Regions from separate parts of the Homo sapiens genome. Here all the other regions are linked to region 1. The links are contacts of gene promoters, found by promoter capture Hi-C in human tissues and cell types (Jung and others, 2019). All regions are on one chromosome and are shown on one strand. Each heading gives the region's core, a stretch centred on a gene start or on the middle of the fragment in contact. The rest is flanking DNA. Distances are from core to core; before and after follow the strand shown. Region 1 holds the start of LGR4 (leucine rich repeat containing G protein-coupled receptor 4). Region 2 overlaps BBOX1 (gamma-butyrobetaine hydroxylase 1). Region 3 has its middle 5.1 kb from the start of BBOX1.

Region 1 (3,170 bases), core at 292-2,791:
GTGTGTCTCTCGATCTCAGGCAGCTCAAAAGAAAAGATCTGCTGGCTGCGTGAAGGTGCATTAGAAACCTGCTGCTACCTTGCAGCCTGGGCTGAGCATATGCTCCGGAACTTGCTTCTCTTCCAACATCCTGCACCTCAGGTCAGCATTCCTTCTTTAAAAGGCCTTGTTGGGTAAGAGCATGTCCACCAACAGAACCCTGTAATTCTCCCTTGTTTTCTCGGACTCCCCTGCGTGCTGCAGAAGCCTGGGCGTTAGTGGGGTAGTCCCGAGTGGAACTGGGCCGAGGTAGGTGCCGGGACGCACTACCTGGATGGGGCCAAATTGGAAGGAGATTCGCCCTGACTGAGGTACAGGTGTTTCTTCTCCCCACATGCTGGAACCCAGGAGGCTCCAGGTGCTTCCCCACGAGACATGCCTCGGTATGCAGACTGAGGCCAAGTTCTCGGCGCCCTCAGCCCCGCCAGTAGCGGAACTCCTGCCCGCTGAGCGAGGGCCCTCATGAGAAGGGAAGGTCGCGTGGACAGGCTGCCAGGGGCAAGCGTTTTTAGATTACTTCCTCCTTCTTGGCCCCAGATGCACTTGTGAGTTGGGGGTGTGCGCGGTGGGGTGGGAGGGTGCTTGTGCCCAAAAAGTCTGGGAACGAAAGCTACTGCTGGCTCGAACCCGGACTAGCAAAGTGCGGAAAGCCCGTGGCACAGGAGTGGGTGCCAGGCAGCCCGCACGCAGGTGACCGGCGGACCCCCTCCCCAGGCCCGGGCGGCGGCGGGGCGGGGTGGGGTGGGACTGACCCCTGGCTCCGCCCCGCGGCGCCCCCCGCTGGGCCCCGTTTCCTCCCCCCCCCTCGCGTCCCCGCCGCCCGCACTCACAGCGCTTGGGTGAAGGCGCTGAGCCCCTCGGGCACGGCCGTCAGCCCCTTCCCGGAGCAGTCCACCCGACGGTCGCCGTCGCAGCTGCAGGGCGCCGCGCAGAGAGGCGGCGCCGCGCCGCTGGGCCCGGCCGAGCCGAGCAGCCCCAGGGCGAGGAAGCAGAGCAGCCCTAGCGGGCCCGGCATTGCTGCGGCCGCCTCCCGCGCCGGCCTCTCCCGCGGCGCTGCTCGCTCCGCTGCCCTCCGATGTCCCCCGCCGCCCCCGGGCAGCCGGCCTGCGGGCTGGAGCGGGGGTCTCTTCCTCGGCGGTCCGCGCGGGCTCGGCCCCTTCAGCAGTCCGCCGCAGCGGCGCAGGGACGCGGCGCTCCGGAGTTTCGCCCTTCCCGCTGCTCCATGGACGCGCAGAGGCAGCCCCGCTCCTCCGGCGGCTCACGCCAGCCGGGCCGGCCCGGCGCAGCGGCGGGGGCCGCGCTCTGCCATCGCACCGGTCTCCCTGTCCCTGGCCTCTCAATGCAGCGGCTCTTCAAGGTTGCAGAGCGCAGCCTTCAGCCATGCCGGCCACTCGCCCCAGCCCCCGCCGTGGCTCTCGCACAAACACCCAGACTCTGGCTCGCTGTCTCCCAGCCGCGGCTCAATCTCTTCCCGTCCTTTTCCCTTCTAGGGTTGCACGCTCTGGTTCCCAAACCCCCGGCCGCTGGCTTATGCAAATCACTTAGGTACATGCAAAAGTATCCCTTCTCCCGGAGCGCCATTGGCCCGGGGAGGTCTCGAGCTCATTACTATGCAGAGAGGAGAGCCGCCATTGGCCAAGAGGAGGACCAGAGGGGCGTGTTTCTCGGGCGTGAGTGACAAGGTGGTGGTGGTTGTGGTGGTGGCGGCGGTGGTGGTGGTGGTGGTGGCGGCGGTGGTGGTGGTGGTGGTGGTGGTGGTTCAAGGCAAAATCTTGACTTGGCTGGATTTGTCTGGCAGGTTGTGGATTGAAGGTAGAAGGATAGTAGGACAAGGGGTCTAGTTTTTCCCTCCCCCACCCGTCTTTTTGTTCCCTCCGCAGAAATTGGATCTCCTAAATTGGATGACCTGGTAAGTAGAACTTCCCTCCAGCGTTCAGTTAAGTTTTAAATGACTCTCCGCTGTTCCAAAGGGCGAGGACGTCTGGAGCTCTGCAAACGGAAAAAAGATTTTGAAGAGGAGGAAAAAAGTTTCCCTCGATCTGACACACATCTTTGGGTTTTAGCTATACACTAAGTTAAAAGTGTACCCTCTCCAGTGCCTCACTTCACCTGGGATCTTTACACCTATCTTGATACACATTTGGTAGCTAAGTCTTAGCAATTCATTCTCCCCAGTCCTCTCTCTGTATTTGGTGTTTTTGGTGACTGCAAATTAGACTCCTTTCTCACGCACTTTAAAATCCTGAAACACAGGAATTTTGTAAAAGGTCAGAGAAAGTGATGTTTCTGAACACTGGACAATTTCCAAAACATCTGAGTGGGAGGTGACTACGGCTGAGAAGCCAGCAGCAACGTTGGTGTTAGGTAATTATCAGCATTCCCTCCTCTTCTGGATTTTGAGTCCCTGTGGCCTAATAGACCCCACGGAATCATTACCTGTACCAACTACGGCTTTAAGGGTACTTCGTTTCTTGCTCTCTGCCATGGCGTTGAGTCGTTTTACTCTATAATGGAGACATTTTTAATGAATACATTAAAACAAGCAGGATTCGGCCGGGCGCGGTGGCTCACGCCTGTAATCCCAACACTTTGGGAGGCTGCGGCGGGCGGATCACCTGAGGTTGGGAGTTCTAGACCACCCTGACCAACATGAAGAAACCCCGTCTCTACTAAAAATACAAAATTAGCCGGGTGTGGTGGCAGATGCCTGTAATCCCAGCTACTCGGGAGGCTGAGGCAGGCGAATTGCTTGAGCCCGGGAGGCGGAGGTTGCGGTGAGCTGGAGATCGCGCCATTGCATTCCAGCCTGGGCAACAAGAGCAAAACTCTGTCTCAAAAAAAAAAAAAAAAAAAAAAAAAAAAAGCAGGATTTAAAGATAATTATCATATAAAGTTGACTAGCCATCGTATGTAAATAAAACTTAGGACAATGGAAACAGGTTGATGCAGACCTATAAGTTTAAAATGAAAAAATTTTATCATCTTTGTATTTGGGAGTTTATCTAAAAGATAATGTCAGGTTGGGCACATAAGTCACATACAGTAAATCTGTCTAGAAGCTAGAGAGTTAATAAATAAACATATGCCTTCATTTCAAGTTTTAGGAATGACATATCTCCTCTCACTGCAGG
Region 2 (3,188 bases), core at 443-2,942, 380 kb before region 1:
AACAGTACTGGTATTTGGCCTGAGTATCAGGACTCTTCAAAACTCTGCAGGTGATTCTCATGTGCAGCCAAGGTTGAGAACCTCTGGCTGAAAGGAAAGGGGACTTCAATAGAAGTCAGGTCTCCATTGGGATAGAACTGGGGTGCTTTATATCATCTGAACTCTCACAATGATGTGCACAAAATGGCATTTACCACGTTATTCTTTCTACTTTGTTTGTGCCTGGATATGACATCTTCAGAACAGACTCAGTAGCTGCCTTAAACAATGTCCCTCCCTTTCATATCTTTGTTTCTCCACTGGAAAAGTATCTTACTCTTGTTTCAAAAATAATTAGTTGGTGAGTGAGTGAATGGAATGAATAAATGCACACAATAAATAATGGAGAAAAGAGATTAAACAATAGAAGAGGGGTAGAAAAAGGAAAGTAGGAACAGATTAAAAGTAAACTTTGCTCTCCATGCAGATTTTTCAAGGAAGCTTATGACTGCTCTTGGTTAGATGCCTAAAACAATAATAGCTTGCTGATGGTGCCACGTTAGACATGCCTTCCTTGGGAAACTAGTACCCACCTCGCACTTTGCCATTCAAGTAGGGTTATTAGTTTCAAAAATGTTAAATGCATGAGTCTAAAATGAGAATGAGAATAGCTATTTTTGGTTCTTGGCTGTCATCTCAGTTGTTAGGTGGTTGGTTGGATGAACAAAAAAACAGTAGATTCCAGCATTTCATGTAGTCTTCATATACAGAAGGCAAGGAATAAATGTTTAATGAATAAATCATGCCTAAATCTTTGTAAAGGACTATAAACCAGCAGATAAATACAATAATTATTAGAATCTTTCACCATTATAAACTATGTTCAACTAAATCAAAATGGCAATAACTTTCAGGACAAAAGTGCATGTCATTTTCCACATCTGTATTTTCTCAGATGCTTGTCATTATTTTGTCAGCACATCATCATCTAGACAATATTTTTTTATGCAACCATGTGAAATGCTCAGTAACTTTACTCACTTGATAATGATGAATACTTTCCTAGGACAAAAGAATAAGAGTAGGTAAAGAAATTCTCATTGTCAATTTTGTCAAATACATGTAAACATGGAGCAGTATGTAAAAAGACAACCTTTCGAGAATTTAAAGCTTTGATTTAGCACAAAGTTTTTACAGACTAGGCCAAAATGCCTCATCTCATGTCCTTTCTCCCCCACCAAAAAAAAGAAAATCAATGAAAATAATTTTCTGGAGCCCTTTTAGGAAAGGTGATATTATTGAATAAATGAATTTTATGACATGACTTAATCCATTGGGAAACAGTTATTGTAAACTACATTCTATCATACACTGTCATTTTCAATGATTATACCAAGTTAGGATGTTTTTTCAGAATGTATCCTACGAAGTAAATCCCAAAGAAAGTACAATTTCTGTCAATCAAACAGAGTATCTTTCTTGAATACTAATAATACGTGCATGGCACTGTACCAGGCATTTTGTTGGGTTTAGATTTGGGTTTCTACTTTATGAAAAAGTACCTTTTGTAATTGCTGTATGTGGGTAAATGTAAATACTTGAATTGGCTTCCTTTAAATAATCTAGGCCAATAAAAATTCCATAAAGCGAAGGAACAGACTGAAAAGTAACCCCGGACTTTTGGCATTCCAACTGAGGGAACATGACAGTCAATATATGCCAACAGCAGTTCAAAGAGGGTGGATAACAGGAAGGTGATCCCCAGGATGATGCAAAGCATGGTCAAGATGGGGAAATACTCATCTACCAATATTATCTTCAGACAAAATGAATCCACTCCTCAAAATTTACACAGGCTACCGTTGTGTAAATAGGTGTGGCAAAATAATATAAATTTAATTAAGATTATGCAATGTCGTGCAGCCCTTCCTCCCCATCCTCAAGCTAATCCAACTCAGACACATGCCATTTCTATGACATGCCATTCTTCCCTATTCCTGGCCATCCCCTAAATCAGTCCCTTTCTCACTTGTTTGTTCAGGACCGCTTCTTTCTCTTCCTGCTTAACCTTTTGTTTGCTGCATGTATCTCTCTTGCTTTTATATCTCCTGGACCTTTATTCTGACTACAGACAACCTGTGCCAAGTCTTCATGTCTTTTTGGCTGCTTTTTGGCCTTTCTTGCCCTTTTCACTTGACTTACTAACATTTTTCCTCTTCCCTTCCAACCACCACACCTGCTACATCCTCCCATTGATCTGGCATCCTCTGCAGCGCTACAGTAGAAATTCTCTCCCAGCCTCTGTTCTGTGAAACCACTACCAGTACCTCATCCCCAAGCCCTGGCATTATAATAAACCAAAATAATTATATGCTCCTCACTCAAATGAACGAGTTTTGCACTCTTGATGGCCCATCAGGAAAGAGAAGTGGAAATTCTCTCCCACAAACTCTTAACATAAAGTAAGGCAATTTCTACTTTTTGTTGCAGATTCTATTTTTAGTAGTAATACATGCATTATATTAATAAAACAAAATGAACAACACTTGTGTAAGATGTCACTACTGTTTTTTATGCTGGACTGTAGCAATGCATGGCTTTATCATACTATAATTCTGGTAAGATAATATTGAGAAATTCAGACAATCTTCTCTAAAATGGCAAAACTCAAACCCTGAAAATTCCTTTTTTAATGAGTTGGACAACTAAATAAACTGGAGAGTCCAGGGAATTATTATTTACATAAGCTGATCTGTGAGTATGTTTGTGTTCATGACACAGAGAAAGGGAGAGAAAGAAAGACTTGGTGGGAAGGGTACAGTGTCATTTTAAAAAATATTTGTCAACTATATTTTATATTATTAATTAACTATCCTGCTTGTAACTCTACCAGTCTAACCTTTGAAAACTAAGAAGGCTTATATCATTGCCATTGCCACTGTCATGTTGAGCTTCTTATAGGCATAAATGGTGGCGTAATCAAGGTCGTATCTTTACTGTTAACTCAGCACCTGACACACAATTACGTCTCAGGAAATTTTAATGAAAGGGAATATGTGCTAAGTAAGATATTGTAGACTTCCATCTGAACAAGACAACAAAAGCTCTTTGACAACATTGTCAAAATTTATCAGTCCATAATTTAAAAGTTAACCTCATGGGAAACTCAGAGTGACTCTTCTTCCCCAAAAAGTCAAGCAGAAGAGAAT
Region 3 (3,040 bases), core at 156-2,655, 440 kb before region 1:
CAAGGATCAAAAAAGACAAAGAAGATCATTACATAATGGTAAAAGGTTCAATTCAACAAGAAGACCTAACTATCCTAAATATATATATATGTATCCAATACAGGAGAACCCAGATTCATAAAGCAACTTCTTAGAGGCCTTCAGAGAGACTTAGACTCACACAATAGTAGTGTGAGACTTCAACACCCCACTGACAGTATTAGACAGATTGCTGAGGCAGAAAATTGACAAAGATATTTAGGACATGTACTCAGCACTGGATCAAATGAACCTGGTAGATATGTACAGAACTCTCCACCCAAAAGCAACAGAATATACATTCTTCTCATCACTTTATGGCACATAATCTAAAATCGACCACATAATCAAACACAAAACCCTCCTCAGCAAATGCAAAAGAATTGAAATCATAACAACCACTCTCTCAAACCACAGCACAAGCAATTAGAAATCAGAAAATCAGAAATTTGCTCAAAACTATACAATTACATGGAAATTGAGTAATCTGCTCCTGAACGAGTTTTGCGTAAATAATGAAAGTAAGGCAGAAATCAAGAAGTTCTGTGAAATTAATGAGAATAAAGATACAACATACCAGAATCTCTGGTATACAGCTAAGGTAGTGTTAAGAGGGAAATTAATAGCACTAAATACATCAAAAAGTTAGAAAGGTCTCAAGTTAAGAATCTAACATCACAACTAAAGAACCAAGAGCAAACTAACCTCAAAGCTAGCAGAAGACAGGAAATAACCAAAATCAGAGCTGAACTGAAGGAGACTGAGACACAAAAAAACATTAGAAACAACAACAACAAAAAAAACAGTGAATCAAGGAATTGGTTTCTTGAAAAAATTAATAAAATAGACCACTGGCTAGACTAACAAGAAAAGAGAAAAGATCCAAACAAACACAAATAGAAACAACAAAGGAGATATTACCACTGGGGGACTTCACAGAAACACAAATAACTATCAGAGAACATTATAAATACTCCTATGCACAAAAATTAGAAAAGCTAGAAAAATGGATATATTATTGGACACATACTCCATCCCAAGAAATTGGGAGGAAGGAAGAAATTGAGTCCCTGAACAGACCAATAACAATCTCTGAAATTGAATCATTATTAAATAGCCTACCAATCAAAAATAAAAAGCCAGAAGGATCCACAGCCAAATTCTACCAAATGTACAAAGAAGAGCTGGTACCATTCCTACTGAAGCGATTCAACAAAAAGTTTAAAAAATGAGGAGAAAGGACTCCTCCCTTACTCATTCTATGAAGCCAGTATCATACCTAAACCTGGCAGAGACATGACAAAAAAAAAAACCTTCAGGCCAATATCCTTGATGAACATCAGTGTAAAAATCCTCGCAAAATACTGGCAAACCAAATACAGCAACACATCAAAAAGCTTATTCACCACAATCAAGTAGGCTTTATCCCTGTAATTCAAGGTTGGTTCAACTTACACAAAACAATAAGTGTGATAAACTTAACAAAAGACAAAAACCACATGATTATCTCAATAGATGCAGAAAAGGCTTTTGATAAAATTCAACACACCATCATGTTTATAAACTCTCAATAATCTAAGTATGGAAGGAACATACCTCAAAATAATAAGAGCCATCTATGAAAACCACAGCCAACATCATATTGAATAGGCAAATTTGGAAACATTTCCCTTGAAATCTGGCATAAGACGTGTGTGCCCTCTCTCACCACTCCTATTCATAGTACTGGAAATCCTGGCCAGGGCAATCAGGCAACAGAAAGAAATAAAGGTATCTATACAGAAAGAGAAGAAGTCAAACTATCCTTTTTGCAGACAACATAATCTTATATCTAGAAAACTTCATAGTCTCAGCCCAAAAGCTCTTTAAGCTGATAAATAACTTCAGCAAAATCTCAGGATAAAAATAATCAGTATACCAAAATCACTAGCACTCCTATACATCAACAACAGTCAAGCTGAGAGCCAAATCAGAAACTCGATTCTATTCACAATTGCCACAAAAAGAAAAAAATACCTATGAATACAGCTAAAAGATATCTGCAAGGAGAACTACAAAACACTGCTCAAAGAAATCAGAGATGAAACAAATGAAAAAACATTCCATGCTCATGAAGAAAAACAATAAATGTCATTAAGATAGCCATAATGTCCAAAGCAATTAATAGATTCAGTGCTGTGCCTATCAAACTATTAATGGCATTCTTCACAGAACTATAGAAAATACTTTAAAATTCATATGAACCAAAAAACAGCCCTAACAGCCACGAATATCCTAAGCAAGAAGAATTGAGGAGAAGGAACTCCCTCTTCTCCAAAGCTGGAGGCATCATGCTACACAACTTTAAACTATACTATAGGGCAGCAGTAACCAAAACAGCATGGTACCAGTACAAAAACAGACAAATAGACCAGTGGAACAGAATAAAAGCCCAGAAATAAAGTGGTACACCTACAACTAGCTGATCTTCAACAAAGCTGACAAAAATAAGCAATAGGAAAAGGATTCCCTATTCAATAAATGGTGCTGGGATAACTAGCTAGCCATAAGCAGAAGATTGGAAACAATAGGAAAAGGTCTCCCTATTCAATAAATAGTGCTGGGATAACTAGCTAGTCATAAGCACAAGATTGAAAATGGATGCCTTCTTTACACCTTATACAAAAATTAACTCAAGATTAAAGACAAAAATTTAAAACTCAAGACTATAAAAACCCTGGAAGACAACCTAGGCAATACCATTCTGAACATAGGAATGGGCAAAGATTTCATGCTGAAGATGCCAAAAGCAATTACAACGAAAGCAAAAATTACAAATGGGATCTAATTAAACTAAAAAGCTTCTGGACAGCAATAGAAACTATTAACAGAGTAAACAGACAACCTATACAAATGAGAGAAAATATTTGCAAACTATGCATCTGACAAAGGTCTAATACCCAGCTTCCATAAGAAAACTTAAGCAAATTTATAAGAAAAAGCAAACTACATTAAAAAGTAGGCAAATGACATGAACACTTTT

The links. Contacts are between HindIII fragments. The study calls those that stand out against the background at their distance.
Region 2: a fragment that was not itself captured here is called in contact with the fragment with the promoter of LGR4 in region 1 in 1 of the 25 tissues and cell types used here (hippocampus).
Region 3: a contact is called between a fragment that was not itself captured here and the fragment with the promoter of LGR4 in region 1, in 1 of the 25 tissues and cell types used here (H1 embryonic stem cells).

Annotation. Positions count from the first base shown.
Region 1 is chr11:27,471,249-27,474,418 of GRCh38, forward strand. LGR4 (leucine rich repeat containing G protein-coupled receptor 4) reads right to left here and starts at 1,542. Exons shown (of 18, transcript NM_018490.5): 1 at 870-1,542. The coding sequence starts at 1,054. It overlaps LGR4-AS1 (LGR4 antisense RNA 1), which reads left to right and starts at 483. Exons shown (of 4, transcript NR_131170.1): 1 at 483-584; 2 at 1,530-1,709; 3 at 1,920-1,948. RefSeq lists silencers at 656-715, 966-1,135, 1,266-1,315. The HindIII fragment of the contact is 14,571 bases long and covers 1-3,170 here.
Region 2 is chr11:27,096,008-27,099,195 of GRCh38, forward strand. The region is part of intron 5 of BBOX1 (gamma-butyrobetaine hydroxylase 1); the gene reads left to right. The region is part of intron 3 of BBOX1-AS1 (BBOX1 antisense RNA 1); the gene reads right to left. Among named protein-coding and RNA genes, the nearest start is that of BBOX1, 57 kb to the left of the region's middle. The HindIII fragment of the contact is 3,553 bases long and covers 1-3,188 here.
Region 3 is chr11:27,034,187-27,037,226 of GRCh38, forward strand. No RefSeq gene overlaps it. Among named protein-coding and RNA genes, the nearest start is that of BBOX1, 5.1 kb to the right of the region's middle. The HindIII fragment of the contact is 7,203 bases long and covers 1-3,040 here.